Linked DNA regions of Homo sapiens: regions 1 and 2 are each linked to region 3. Evidence: promoter capture Hi-C in human tissues and cell types (Jung and others, 2019). All regions are on one chromosome and are shown on one strand. Each heading gives the region's core, a stretch centred on a gene start or on the middle of the fragment in contact. The rest is flanking DNA. Distances are from core to core; before and after follow the strand shown. Region 1 overlaps CDH1 (cadherin 1). Region 2 overlaps CDH1 (cadherin 1). Region 3 holds the start of CHTF8 (chromosome transmission fidelity factor 8).

Region 1 (4,110 bases), core at 417-2,916, 350 kb before region 3:
TTCGAGTTCTGCAAAAGCCATCTGTGGCAGAACAGGAGCGGCAGCTTACCACATACAAACTCTTCAAATGTTCCCACCAACTGTGACAGGTGGGGGCCACTCTGTAGTTGAAGAGGAAACTAAGACTCAAGCGTTTAACTTTCCTGAAGTTAACACAGCTAGTCAGAGGCACAGTTTGCATTCAAGTCCACATCTATCTAGACTCCAGGCCTAAGCGCTGACCGTTAGTGCTCTATGAGGCAGCACCTGGTAAAGCCACCTGTGCTTTGAGGGGGCGTTCAGGAGGCTACAGCCTAGTTCTGTGTAGGGTCAGATTATCTTGTTCTTTCTTCTCTCCGCTGGCCCACATCTTACCCTCTGGTGCCATTGTGACCGATCCTTCGCAAAGGAGTCAGCCCTAGAATTGTTGACAGTGAGCCCGTTTCCTGCCCCTCACCCCACACAGGGTTCCTTCCCATCCTTGCCCCTCCGTCCCTGGACCAGCTCCATGGGTCAGTGTTCCTCTTAGAGCATGACTCTTGGAAAAAAAACAGCACTTATCATTGAGGTCATCAGATTGCAACCCTGAGAATGTACTTATCAAACCACAAATAGAATCAGAGAAGGACTATATAGTCTCCCATATCCTAAGTGTCTCATTTCTGAAAACACAACTGAAATCTGGTTTTGGAAGCCACATCACATGTTGCCTATTGAGATTACGGTCAACTGAACACCCATCCCTCCTTTGGTTCAACCCTCTCATTAAAGAAAAGAAAAAGGGCCGGGAGTGGTGGCTCACTCCTGTAATCCTGGCACTTTGGGAGGCCGAGGCAGGCAGATATCCTGAGCTCAGGAGTTCGAGACCAGCCTGGGTAACATGGCGAAACCCCGTCTCTACTAAAAATACAAAAATTAGCCAGGCATGGTGGCACATGCCTGTAATCCCAGCTACTCAGGAGGCTGAGGCACGAGAATCGCTTGAACCCAGGAGGTGAAGGTTGCAGTGAGCTAAGATGATGCCACTGCACTCCAGCCTAGGTGACAGAGTATCTCAAAAAAAAAAAAAAAAGAAAAAAGAAAAAAAGAAAAAAAAGTTTGTTTATGTGAACATAGGAAAACAAACACAAGCCAATTTAAATGGTACCTAAGAGCCTAAAAGTGTCTGCCTGTCAGCAGTTCATCTGAGACAAGCAGTGTTACCGATTTCTTGTTTCCTTCTGAAGATATTCTAAGCCTATTCCCTATCCCATTTAGCTGTGTGCTCTTTAAAGACAGATTCTTCCCATATTATTACATATACACTTACTTGATTCTTTTTTAAACAGCTCCCTCATTCTTTTTATTTTATTTATTTTTTTTGAGATAGAGTCTCGCTCTGTCACCCAGGCTGGAGTGTAGTGGCATGATCTGGACTCACTGCAACCCTCACCTCCCGGGTTCAAGCAATTCTCAAGCCTCAGCCTCCCTTGTAGCTGGGACTACAGGCACCTACCACCACGCCTGGCTAATTTTTGTATTTTTAGTAGAGATGGAGTTTCACCATGTTGGCCAGGCTGGTCCTGAACTCCTGACCTCAAGCAATCTACCCACCTCGGCCTCCCAAAGTGCTGGGATTTAGGCATGAGCCACCGTGCCCAGCCCTTCATGATTTTTAATTTTTGCATCATTTTCCATTGAGTGGATGCCCATCATTGATTTATCCAGCCCTCTGTCAATGATGTGTCTATCTTTTGCCACCATAAACAAGATTGTAGTGGCCCTCCGTATATCTGCCCTGATGCAATGTGTGAGTCCCTCTGTGAGATGAAGTCCTAAAAATGGGCTTTGCTGAAAGAAAGGATTTATGCATGTAAAATCTATAAACATGATCAGAATGTTCTCTTAAAAAGCCATACTGATTCCTACTTGCCATGATGTCCAAGGCCTTGGAGCCCCACATCTTTGCTGGTACAGTTCCGCCTCTGTGCATTACAGATGATAAAACGAACCCAGAAAAAATGCAGGGGTCTTGCCTGACATTCTCCAGAGAGAATCTGGTCATCTGACTCTGGTCAACTGACATCCAGCATTTTTTTTTTGCTAGACCAGCTGACCAGCATCCGCCGGCAGCACCCCCTTCCCTCTCCCATCATGTGTGGGTCATCCTCCTTTCCACCGCCCACATGGACCCCTCCCTCTGGTCTCCTGCATCCTGCATGGTGTTGGTTATGTGAACAAGTTCTTTAGTGGTGATTTCTGAGATTTTGGTGCACCCATGATTGGAGCAGTGTACACTGTACCTGTGTACACTGTGTAGTCTTTTATCCCTCACCCCCTTCCCACCCTTTCCCCCAAAGTCCCCAAAGTCCATTGTATCTTTTTATGCCTTTGGATCCTCATAGCTTAGCTCCCACTTATGAGTGAGAACATACAATATTTGGTTTTCCATTCCTGAGTTACTTCACTTAGAATACTAATCTCCAGTTCCATTCTTTTTTTTTTTTTAACAGCTTATAAGTTCCTAGGTCCAGTGTTTCCTGTCTCTAATCCCAGTTTCTCAGGAGGGTGAGGCGGGAGCAGGCCCCTCCTACCCTCCTGTTCGGTCATTTTAGCAGATGACTTTCACCCTCATGCCTTTTGCACTGTGATTGCAAGAAGGGATTATTTTTAACTTTATGAATAGGTTATATGTTCACATGGACACCATTGAAAAAAAAATAATCTAAAAAGTATACAATGAAAAGTTCTACTCCCACCCTGTCTCCCTTTGTTCTAATAAGGTGCCTCCCCCATACCTAAAATCTCACTTGTTAGTGTCTTTTAAAGTTCTATATGTAACTATAAACAAATATGAACATATATTCTTTGAGACAGAGTCTTGTTCTTTTTTTCTTTGAGATGGAGTCTTGCTCTGTTGCCCAGGCTGGAGTACAGTGGCGCGATCTCGGCTCACTGCAACCTCTGCCTCCCAGAATCAAGCGATTCTCCTCCCTCAGCCTCCCAAGAAGCTGAGACTACAGGCATGCACTACCATGCCCAGCTAAGTTTTGTATTTTTAGTAGAGACACGGTTTTACCATGTTGGCCAGGCTGGTCTCCAACTCCTGACCTCAAGCGATCCACCCACCTCAGCTTCCCAAAGTGCTGGGATTATAGGCGTGAGCCACTATGCCTGACCAAGACAGAGTCTTGTTCTGTGGCTCAGGCTGGAGTGCTGTTGTGCAGTCGTGGCTCACTGCAGACTCAAACTCCTGGGTTTAAGTGATCCTCCCACCTCAGCCTCCCAAAATGCTGGGATTACAGGGATAAACTTATTTCTTATCCCCTTCTTTTTAGTTACACAAAAGATAGCACTGCTTTGCACTTGCTTTTATCAGCAAACAATAATGTGTCTTGACGATCATTCCCCTGCAGAGCATAAAGAGCTTTTTTTTTTTTAATAGGTTCATAGTATTTCATTGTAAGGAAATTCTATAATTGATTTAAACTAATCCTCTATTGATGGCTATTTGGGCTGTCGCCCATGTTTTGCTAGCACAAACAATGCCTTAGTGAATAACCTTTTACATACGTCATTTTTGTGTGCAAGCTTTCCAGTTTCACATCGGAAAATGGGAACAGTCCAGGTAAATGGCCCATGGAGCATTTCTGCAAGAGCAGCAACCAGGAAAATAAAAGGCTGGAGAACCACTGCTGGAACAGGTGCCCCATCTCCTTGTGGTGGTAGCAACAGTACCACAGCATCTTGTGAGTGACCTGTGGCTGTTCTCCAGTGTATGCCAGAGTCAGATTCTGGCACCTGTGGGTCACTCTTCTTCATGCTCTTTTCTTTTCTTATTATTTTTGCCTACTTGGAATTCTTTTTTTTTCAAATTTGAGACAGAGTCTTGCTCTGTCGCCCAGGCCGGAGTGCAGTGATGCGATATTGGCTCACTGCAACCTCTTCATCCTGGGTTCAAGCGATTCTCCTGCCTCAGCCTCCCAAGTAGCTGGGATTACAGGTGCCCGCCACCATGCCTGGCTTGTTTTTGTATTTTTAGTAGAGACAGGGTTTCACCATGATGGTCAGGCTGGTCTCGAACCCCTGATCTCTGGCGATCCACATGCCTTGGCCTCCCAAAGTGCGGGGATTACAGGGTTGAGCCTGCAC
Region 2 (4,069 bases), core at 317-2,816, 310 kb before region 3:
ATCTAAAACCCAAGCAGGGCTCCCTCTCCCAGCCTCTAGCCACCCTCCACTCCCCTCTCCACTTGCAACCAGGACCATCTTCTCTGCTACCTCCTGCTCCTGGGACCAAACAACACCATTTTTGTGGTTAGCTCCTTCTTGCCAACCAATCGTGAGCTCCCAGATTCATCAGAACTATTCTACCGAGGTGGAGGCAGCTGTCAACTGCCTGGTCAATTTGCATATATGGGCTTCCTACACCTACTTCTCTCTGGGCTTCTATTTCCACCATGACGATGTGGATCTGGAAGGTGTGCACCACTTCTTCCACAAATTGGCCAAGGAGAAGCACAAGGGCGCTGAGTGTCCCTTGAAAATGCAAAACCAGTGTGGCGGCCGCACTGTCTTCCCGGACATCCAGAAGCCATGTAAAGATGAATGGGGTAAAACCCTGGGTGCGATGGAAGTCACTCTGGCCCTGGAGAAGAACCTGAACTGGACCCTTTTGGATCTTCATGCCTTGGGTTCCACCTGCACAGACCCCCATATCTGTGACTTCCTGGAGAGCCACTTCCTAGATGAAAAAGTAAAACTCATCAAGAAGATAGGTGACCACCTGACCAACCTTCACAGGCCAGCCGGCCTCCAGGCCGGGCTGGGCAAAAAGGTTCACCCTCAGGCACACGGGAGCCTACCGAACCCAGCGACATCTGAAGAGCCCCGCTCTGCCTAAGCCTCTCCCTCCAGCCACTAGGCAGCTTTTTTAAACCAACTCTAGAGCCCTCTCCCAAGCCTTAGACCAAATGGAAATAAAGCTTTTTACAGCAAAAAAAAAAAAAAAAAAGTACATACCTAAATAAAACCCAAGCAGCTCTGCTCTCTTCACTCGGCTTGCGGGTGTCTTTAGTTCACTAGCAATTTTATTCTGGAATGAGCTTTTTATTTTCCTCCCCTGGTCTCATCATTTCTTTTTATTGCTTTCTCCAGCCCAAGAATCTATCATTTTGAAGCCAAAGATGGCCTTAGAGGTGGGTGACTACAAAATCAATCTCAAGCTCATGGATAACCAGAATAAAGACCAAGTGACCACCTTAGAGGTCAGCGTGTGTGACTGTGAAGGGGCCGCTGGCGTCTGTAGGAAGGCACAGCCTGTCGAAGCAGGATTGCAAATTCCTGCCATTCTGGGGATTCTTGGAGGAATTCTTGCTTTGCTAAGTAAGTCCAGCTGGCAAGTGACTCAGCCTTTGACTTAAAAAAATGGAGGAGGTTTATTTCCTGGAAATGATTTTTGTTCTTATATTAATAAGGATATAGGTTAGCTGATGTGGGAAAGAGACTCCCAAGTTATGCCAGCCTCCATAAAATAGAAGTTTGTCTCTTACTGAACATTTCAGAGGTAAATGGTCTAAGATGGGAAGGCCATGAAGTCAACAGGGGACCCAGGTTTCTTCTACCTTGTCTCTTTTCATTCTTCAAGACAGTGCATCCCAAGCTTGAGAGCATACAAATCATCTGGGCCTCTTTTTGAACTGGGAAATCTGATCCAGGAGGTCTGGCATAGGGCCACAGATTCTGCATTTCTTTTTTTTTTTTTTTTTTTTTTGAGATGGAGTTTCGCTCTTGTTGCCGAGGCTGGAGTGCAATGGTGTGATCTCAGCTCACTGCACCCTCTGCTTAACAGGTTCAAGCGATTCTCCCGCCTCAGCCTCCTGAGTAGCTGGGACTATGGGCATGTGCCACCACGCCCAGCTAATTTTGTATTTTCAGTAGAGACGGTGTTTCTCCATTTTGGTTAGGCTGGTCTCAGACTCCCGACCTCAGGTGATCCACCCGCCTCAGCCTCCCAAAGTGCTGGGATTACAGGCTTGAGCCACCGCACCCGGCCAGATTCTACATTTCTAACCAGCTCCCAGGCGGTACTGATGTTGCAGTTCCTTAGACCATAGGCAGAGTAGCAAGACCTTGGGGGCTGCCCTCATCAGCGTGGTCTAAGCTAGCCAGCTCACCACCACCACCTCTACATTCCATCCTAGATTGGGGAAGGGGATAACAGAGGAAGTGGAGGCCAAACGACTGGAAGTTGCATATATCACCTCCACTTATATACCATTGGCCCAAACACAGCCACATCTAGCTGCAAGGGAACCTGGAAGCTTCTACTTACAATTGAAAATTGACATGGAGTAGGGGTGGAGTGTAGGGTGAGCAGTGAGTGTCAATGACTAAAAGGATAAAGGAGAAAAAGGATGCTGAGGAAAATTGGCAGTTTCTGCCATAGTCCTTAAACCTGTTTCCATTGGAGCCCACCTGGAGTGAGCCCTAGGGGTGACACAGGAGCTGTTATGGTCAAGGTAAATACTTTTATCATTTACACACAGGGAGAAAGTACTGAATCTATTAAAGGAATAAATTAGCGATGAAAACAGACTATGTGCATCAAAAGACAAAGTATCCATATGGAGGAGTGCACTACATCAGAACTCTGGTAGGGCTTTAAACATGTGAATGATGGAAGAGCAAGCAAATGATTATCACAGCAAATGAGAGCAAGTCAATTAGAAACCTTTGACCTGGTATGGTGGCTCACTCTTTGGGAGACCAGGGTGGGAGGATTGCTTGAAGCCAGGAGTTTGACACCAGCCTGGGCAACAAAGCAAGACTGTCTCTACAAAATAAAAATAAAAAATACATTTTTTTATTAAAAAAAATTTTTTAAAAGAAATGTTTAAAGATCATATATAATTAGTGACTGCAAGGGGTGGTCCAGCTCATGAATGCCTTTGTAGTCAGGGTAGTCAGAAAAGGCTGTTAATTGAGTCTCAAGGACAGTTTTGTGGAAGATGTAAGTGGTTAGGCCACAGGGGCTGGTAGAATTCCAACAGGCAGATGGGTATTTAGGAAGGTTCCCCTCCTAGCAAAGCACAGCAGAGGCTTGAGGAGACTCCTAGAAGAGCAGAGACCAGGCCAAGCTGGTGGGAATGGAAAAAGAATTTTGGAGGGAGCAGTGGGACCAAATCTAGGGTTTTCAATTTAGATTGAGCATGGGTGCCATTGATCCTGCTGCTGCTGCCTCAGTGGACTCCAGGAGAGGGTGCCTTTCAACCTTCCAGAAATGTCTGCTGGGCATCCCATTTGCTTCTGCCCCCTCCTGGTGTCCTCCCAAAGTTGAAGAAAAGGATAGTGCTGTTGAGAATTGAGCAAGCCTTCTGGACTTTCATCCTGCCAGGCTTTACATGGCTTTATTGTGCCATGAGATTAGGTTAATTCATCATTGCCTTGGGCAGGGTAACACAAGCCCTGCCTGCCCACTTCCTAGTCAAATTACATTTCAGTGGCCTGGTCTGCTTTTGGTATAGTGGTTACTGACCAGTACATTCATTCTAAAGGGAATCTTTTTTTTTTTTTTTTTTTTTTTTTAGGCAAGTTCTCATTCTGTGGGCCCGGCTGGAGTGCAGTGGAGTGATCTCAGATCTCAGGTCACTGCAGCCTTGACTTCCGGGGCTCAGGCAATCCTCCCACCTCAGACCCCTGGGTGGCTGGGACCACAGGCATGAGCCACCACACCCAGCTAATTTTTTAATATTTTTTTGTAGAAACAGTGTTTCCTTATGTTGCCCAGGCTGGTCTCAAACTCCTGGTCTCAACCAGTCCTCCCACCTTGGCCTTCCAAAGTGTTGGGATTATAGGCATGAGCCACTGTGCCCAGCCAGGGAATCTTAAAGATTGTAGTTATACTTGAAATATTTTTTTTTTAAATAGGATTACCTAAATTTGCTATGGGTATGTATTTTTTTAGACACTGGGGGTGGGGATTCCCATGTAGAGCAACATTTAAAACAGAGGCAATGCCAGAGTTCAGATGTTCAATTTCAATTTCTTGTATTTTTAACTTCTATGATTATTTTTTCTTTCTTTATTAGAGATGGGTTCTCACTATGTTACTCACATTGGTCTCAAACTCTTGAGCTCAAGTGATCCTCCCACCTTGGCCTCCCAAAGTGCTGGGATTACAGGTGTGAGCCACTCCTCCGGCCAATTTCTTGTTTCTTAAGGGCACAAATGTGCTAGAGGCTGGGCACGGTGGCTCACA
Region 3 (3,703 bases), core at 325-2,824:
TTTTATTTGTAGTGTTATCGTGGTTTTGTAACTGAAGGGGACAGGTCTATACTTTTGAAGGGGATCTTGTCTCTTGAAAGGCTTATGTTACTAAGTCTAAAATCCTGTTTCCAAATGAGAATCTTGCTCCCCTCCAAAAAGGGGCTTATGGAGGGTTGGTGGAATTGAATGCTTCCAAACTTTACATTAGTGAAGTGTGTTCAAAAACGTGTGTGGATGCTATGCATACACGTGATACTTCCCATCACATTTTAGGATTCCCACGTTGGAGGGAATCAATTACTGGTATTTGTAGCAATGGGTGGAAAAGATGGCTTCAGTCGATCTGAGTTACTGCAGTTTTCTCCATCTTCTGCTACTCTGCAGCCCCATCTTAGCCTGTCCTCCTCTTAATGGTACGGCCCCCTGTACTCCCCCAAACCCTTTCCTTTCTAGCCCGGCGTAGAGTCTCCCTCTGTGCTCTTCCTCCCACCCACCCCCATCTTCTCCACCCACTCCCTCTCGGCCCCCTCCCACCCTTTCTGCTAGAGCTACAAACACTTCCTATTTCTAGTCCCACCCACTTTCTGGGACTTCTCAATCCGCTTCCCCCCTCTTCTCCACCCCCCTCCAAATTACAAGCTGTTTTAACCCCTTTTCCTGCCTCCCAGGGAAACTATTCTTTAAACCGCCTTCCTCCACACCACCCACTGGAGTGGTCTTCCAAACCGTTCACCCTCTTCCCAAAGATTACTCTTTAAACGTCCTTTCTCTACCACCCTCGTTCTCCAAATTGTTCCCGGTTCTCAAGTACTCCACTCCTCCAGGACCCCACCCCACTCGTCTCTCGGCTTCCCTCCCACAAAAGAACCTGGAATGACTCTCCAACCACCCTTCCAATTACCTCTCCCAGAAGCCTCCCCCCTCCACGATTACAAATGTTACCTGGAACAAAACCTCACGGTCCTAACCCCCACCCCGAACTCCCCTTTCTGCTCTTCCCGCTACTTCCTAGGTTCCAGTTCTACTCCGCTCCCGCAAGCATAGCGGGCTGGGCTCCCTCCCAACCCCGGGAAGAGCCCCTTCCCGCACGTACCTCGAGATTCCGGCCCTCGCCGCCCCCTTCTCCGTCCTCCGCCCGCGCTCGGCCACCCTTTCCGCCCTTCTCCCGCTCCGCCCCGCTCGCTCCCTTCCTTCCCTCCGCCTTCCGTCTCCACACCGCTCCCTTCCCCCACACTCCTGGCCCTCCCACCCCGGAGGCCCCTCCGGGCTTGCCCCCACCTCCGCGCCGCCCTCCCGCCGCCCTCCCCCTTCCCGGCCACCCCTCCCCCGCCCGCGCTCCCCGCCCCTCGGCTCGCCATTCTTCTCTCCGAGCCGCGCGCCCCGCCCGGCCCCGGCTCCCTAGCTTCCCGCTCCCTCGCGCCCTCGCCCCCAATCCCGGCTCGGCCCTCGCTCCCCGCAGCCTCCCGTGCCCCCCGCCCGCGGCCTGACCTGCAATGGCGGCCGCCGAGCGCGGCGCCGCGCGGCCAACGGGCGACAACCGAACCTCCCGCCGCCGTCGCCGCCGCCGCGAGCACTGCCTGCGCACTTCCGACTATGCGCCAGGAGCACTTCCGGGGCAGAGCCTGAGAGCGCGCGCGCACGTGGGGCCGGGGCGGAGAGAGGCGAGCACCGGGAAGGGGAGCGTGGGGCCGCTGGTGAGTTGGGGAAGGGGCGTGGGAAGCGGCTGCGAGAGCTGGGGGGGTCTTACAAGGTGGCCGGCCCAGGGTCGGCGTCCGGCTGAGCTCCTTGTCCCGAGGGTCTCCTTGTCCCGAGGCGGGGTGGGGGCTACTCTGTAGACTCGGGGAGAGGGAAGGGGAGGCGAAGACCGCGCGCGCCTCAGACGCCCCGGCCCGACCGAACGCGCTTGCTCTGTCTGCGGGTTCCTAACCTTGAAGCTAGGCCAGTGAGGGGCGAACAAGACCTGGTCTCTACTCTCGGCCAGTATATATGTTGGCGGGCGTCGGGGGGACGGGGTAGGGTAAGTGACAGACGTCAGACCAGGCAGCCAGATTAAGTCAAACCCTGTCGTTTCTTCCTCAAGAGGAGCTCGGTTCTGCCTGCCCCATCAGCCTCACTGTCACTACCTCAGTTTAGGTCTGTTGTTTGCAAACTTAGCAATAGAGTTGAGGAGAGATGCTTGCTAAAATGCGGATTCCTAGGCGCCCCGAGATAGGAACTCTGGAGCTATGGAGTAGGACCCTTTTTGATTTTTTGCTGAAGCCTCCTTATTATTCAAGCCATTCTGAGCTTTTGAAGATTGAGTAATTCTTGTGGGGGGCATTGTTAGCAGCCATTTGGAAATGAACTTCAGGGAGATGTTGTTGGAGCCTTCCAGCCAGAACAGTGATATTAAGGAACTGAATACTATATGTGACATACTGCAGTTAACATATAGCAATAATGACTCTCTTTTCGCCCCCTAGGAATGGGTGAATTTAAGGTCCATCGAGTACGTTTCTTTAATTATGTTCCATCAGGAATCCGCTGTGTGGCTTACAATAACCAGTCAAACAGATTGGCTGTTTCACGAACAGATGGCACTGTGGAAATTTATAACTTGTCAGCAAACTACTTTCAGGAGAAAGTAAGTCATTTGGGAGTCTGATATGGTGTTTTGATGTTAATTTCTTCTGAAGTTCAAGAAGCTTGTATGTCTTTTATAATCAAACTGATTGAGTGACTTCCTAGCCCCTCTGAAGTTGCTTAGAACTACCAAACTTCTGAGATCTCCTAACTGATAAGAGAAGCTCAGTTTCAATCTGTGTAATGTTGATTAGAAGGGTCCTACCTAGAAATGTGACATCTCACTGCCTGTCATTGGAAACTGAGGTTTGCTGGATCTTTTGGACACAGGAAGGGAAATTGTTGGTATATCAGTCTCAACACCATTGCAGCTTTGGTAAGCAAAATTTCCTGCAGGGAGTATCAGTACTGTTTCATTGTCAATTCAGAAAAAATGATAACACGTTTTAATATCAGAAACTTTTTGGTGATGTGGGAAGATGGATTCCAAAGTTCATCTGTCTGAGAGAATGTAGACCTACATGTCTACATTTGGGAGTAAAGGAGATTTAAAATTAGGTAAAATGTCCTTTGGGTGTATGCAGAGGTCTATTAGTCCTTTTTCTTCTCCCCTCCAAGGGCACTGACTAGTGATTTTCTTCGGGTGCAACATCTTAGTTCATGTTGAATGACTGTTATGTACTGGGTGCTGTGATATAAATGAGTAGATGGGCAAATGAGTGAATTCAGTGCCCAGCAGCCTGGTACCTGGAATTTAGGCATTCTGTAAATGTTTCTCGGTGAATGAGTGGCAAATACTGGGCACTAAGACAAATGTCAGAGGCCCTAACTTTACGGAGCTCAAAGACCAGTGGGAGAAAGATAAGTGTACAGTTTCCAACCTGTAAAATAAATATGATAAACCGAAACACAGGCATAGAACCTTCATTGAATTGCCTTCAGGGAAGGCAATTCAGAGAATTGCCTTCCCTGAGAGGTGGGTTTAGGAAATGTGGAAAGGGATGATTTACTGAGCTCACCCCTGAAGAACTAATCAAAAGGTAAAAACTACAGGACCACCACAAATGGGTTACATTCTGTGGTATGAAGAACATGCGCTGGCGTGTGCTTATTGCATCCTGTGATTTTCTTTTTTTTTCTTTTTCTTTTTTTTTTTTTT

The links. The method cuts DNA at HindIII sites, captures the fragments that hold promoters and counts their contacts. A contact is called where the count stands out against the background at its distance.
Region 1: a fragment that was not itself captured here is called in contact with the fragment with the promoter of CHTF8 in region 3 in 1 of the 25 tissues and cell types used here (dorsolateral prefrontal cortex).
Region 2: a contact is called between a fragment that was not itself captured here and the fragment with the promoter of CHTF8 in region 3, in 1 of the 25 tissues and cell types used here (small bowel).

What each region holds. Positions count from the first base shown.
Region 1 is chr16:68,782,354-68,786,463 of GRCh38, forward strand. All of the region lies in intron 2 of CDH1 (cadherin 1), which reads left to right. Among named protein-coding and RNA genes, the nearest start is that of CDH1, 47 kb to the left of the region's middle. RefSeq lists enhancers at 272-391, 422-611, 1,917-2,061, 2,382-2,526 and cis regulatory regions at 1,989, 2,454-2,466. The HindIII fragment of the contact is 5,111 bases long and covers 1-4,110 here.
Region 2 is chr16:68,822,433-68,826,501 of GRCh38, forward strand. CDH1 (cadherin 1) reads left to right here. Exons shown (of 16, transcript NM_004360.5): 13 at 967-1,194. It also overlaps the pseudogene FTLP14. Among named protein-coding and RNA genes, the nearest start is that of TANGO6, 19 kb to the right of the region's middle. The HindIII fragment of the contact is 3,204 bases long and covers 1-3,168 here.
Region 3 is chr16:69,131,014-69,134,716 of GRCh38, forward strand. It overlaps CHTF8 (chromosome transmission fidelity factor 8), which reads right to left and starts at 1,575. Exons shown (of 4, transcript NM_001039690.5): 1 at 1,471-1,575. It overlaps DERPC (DERPC proline and glycine rich nuclear protein), which reads right to left and starts at 1,575. Exons shown (of 3, transcript NM_001002847.4): 1 at 1,471-1,575. It overlaps UTP4 (UTP4 small subunit processome component), which reads left to right and starts at 1,636. Exons shown (of 17, transcript NM_032830.3): 1 at 1,636-1,676; 2 at 2,445-2,605. The coding sequence starts at 2,447. RefSeq lists silencers at 1,155-1,304, 1,325-1,684. The HindIII fragment of the contact is 4,885 bases long and covers 1-3,703 here.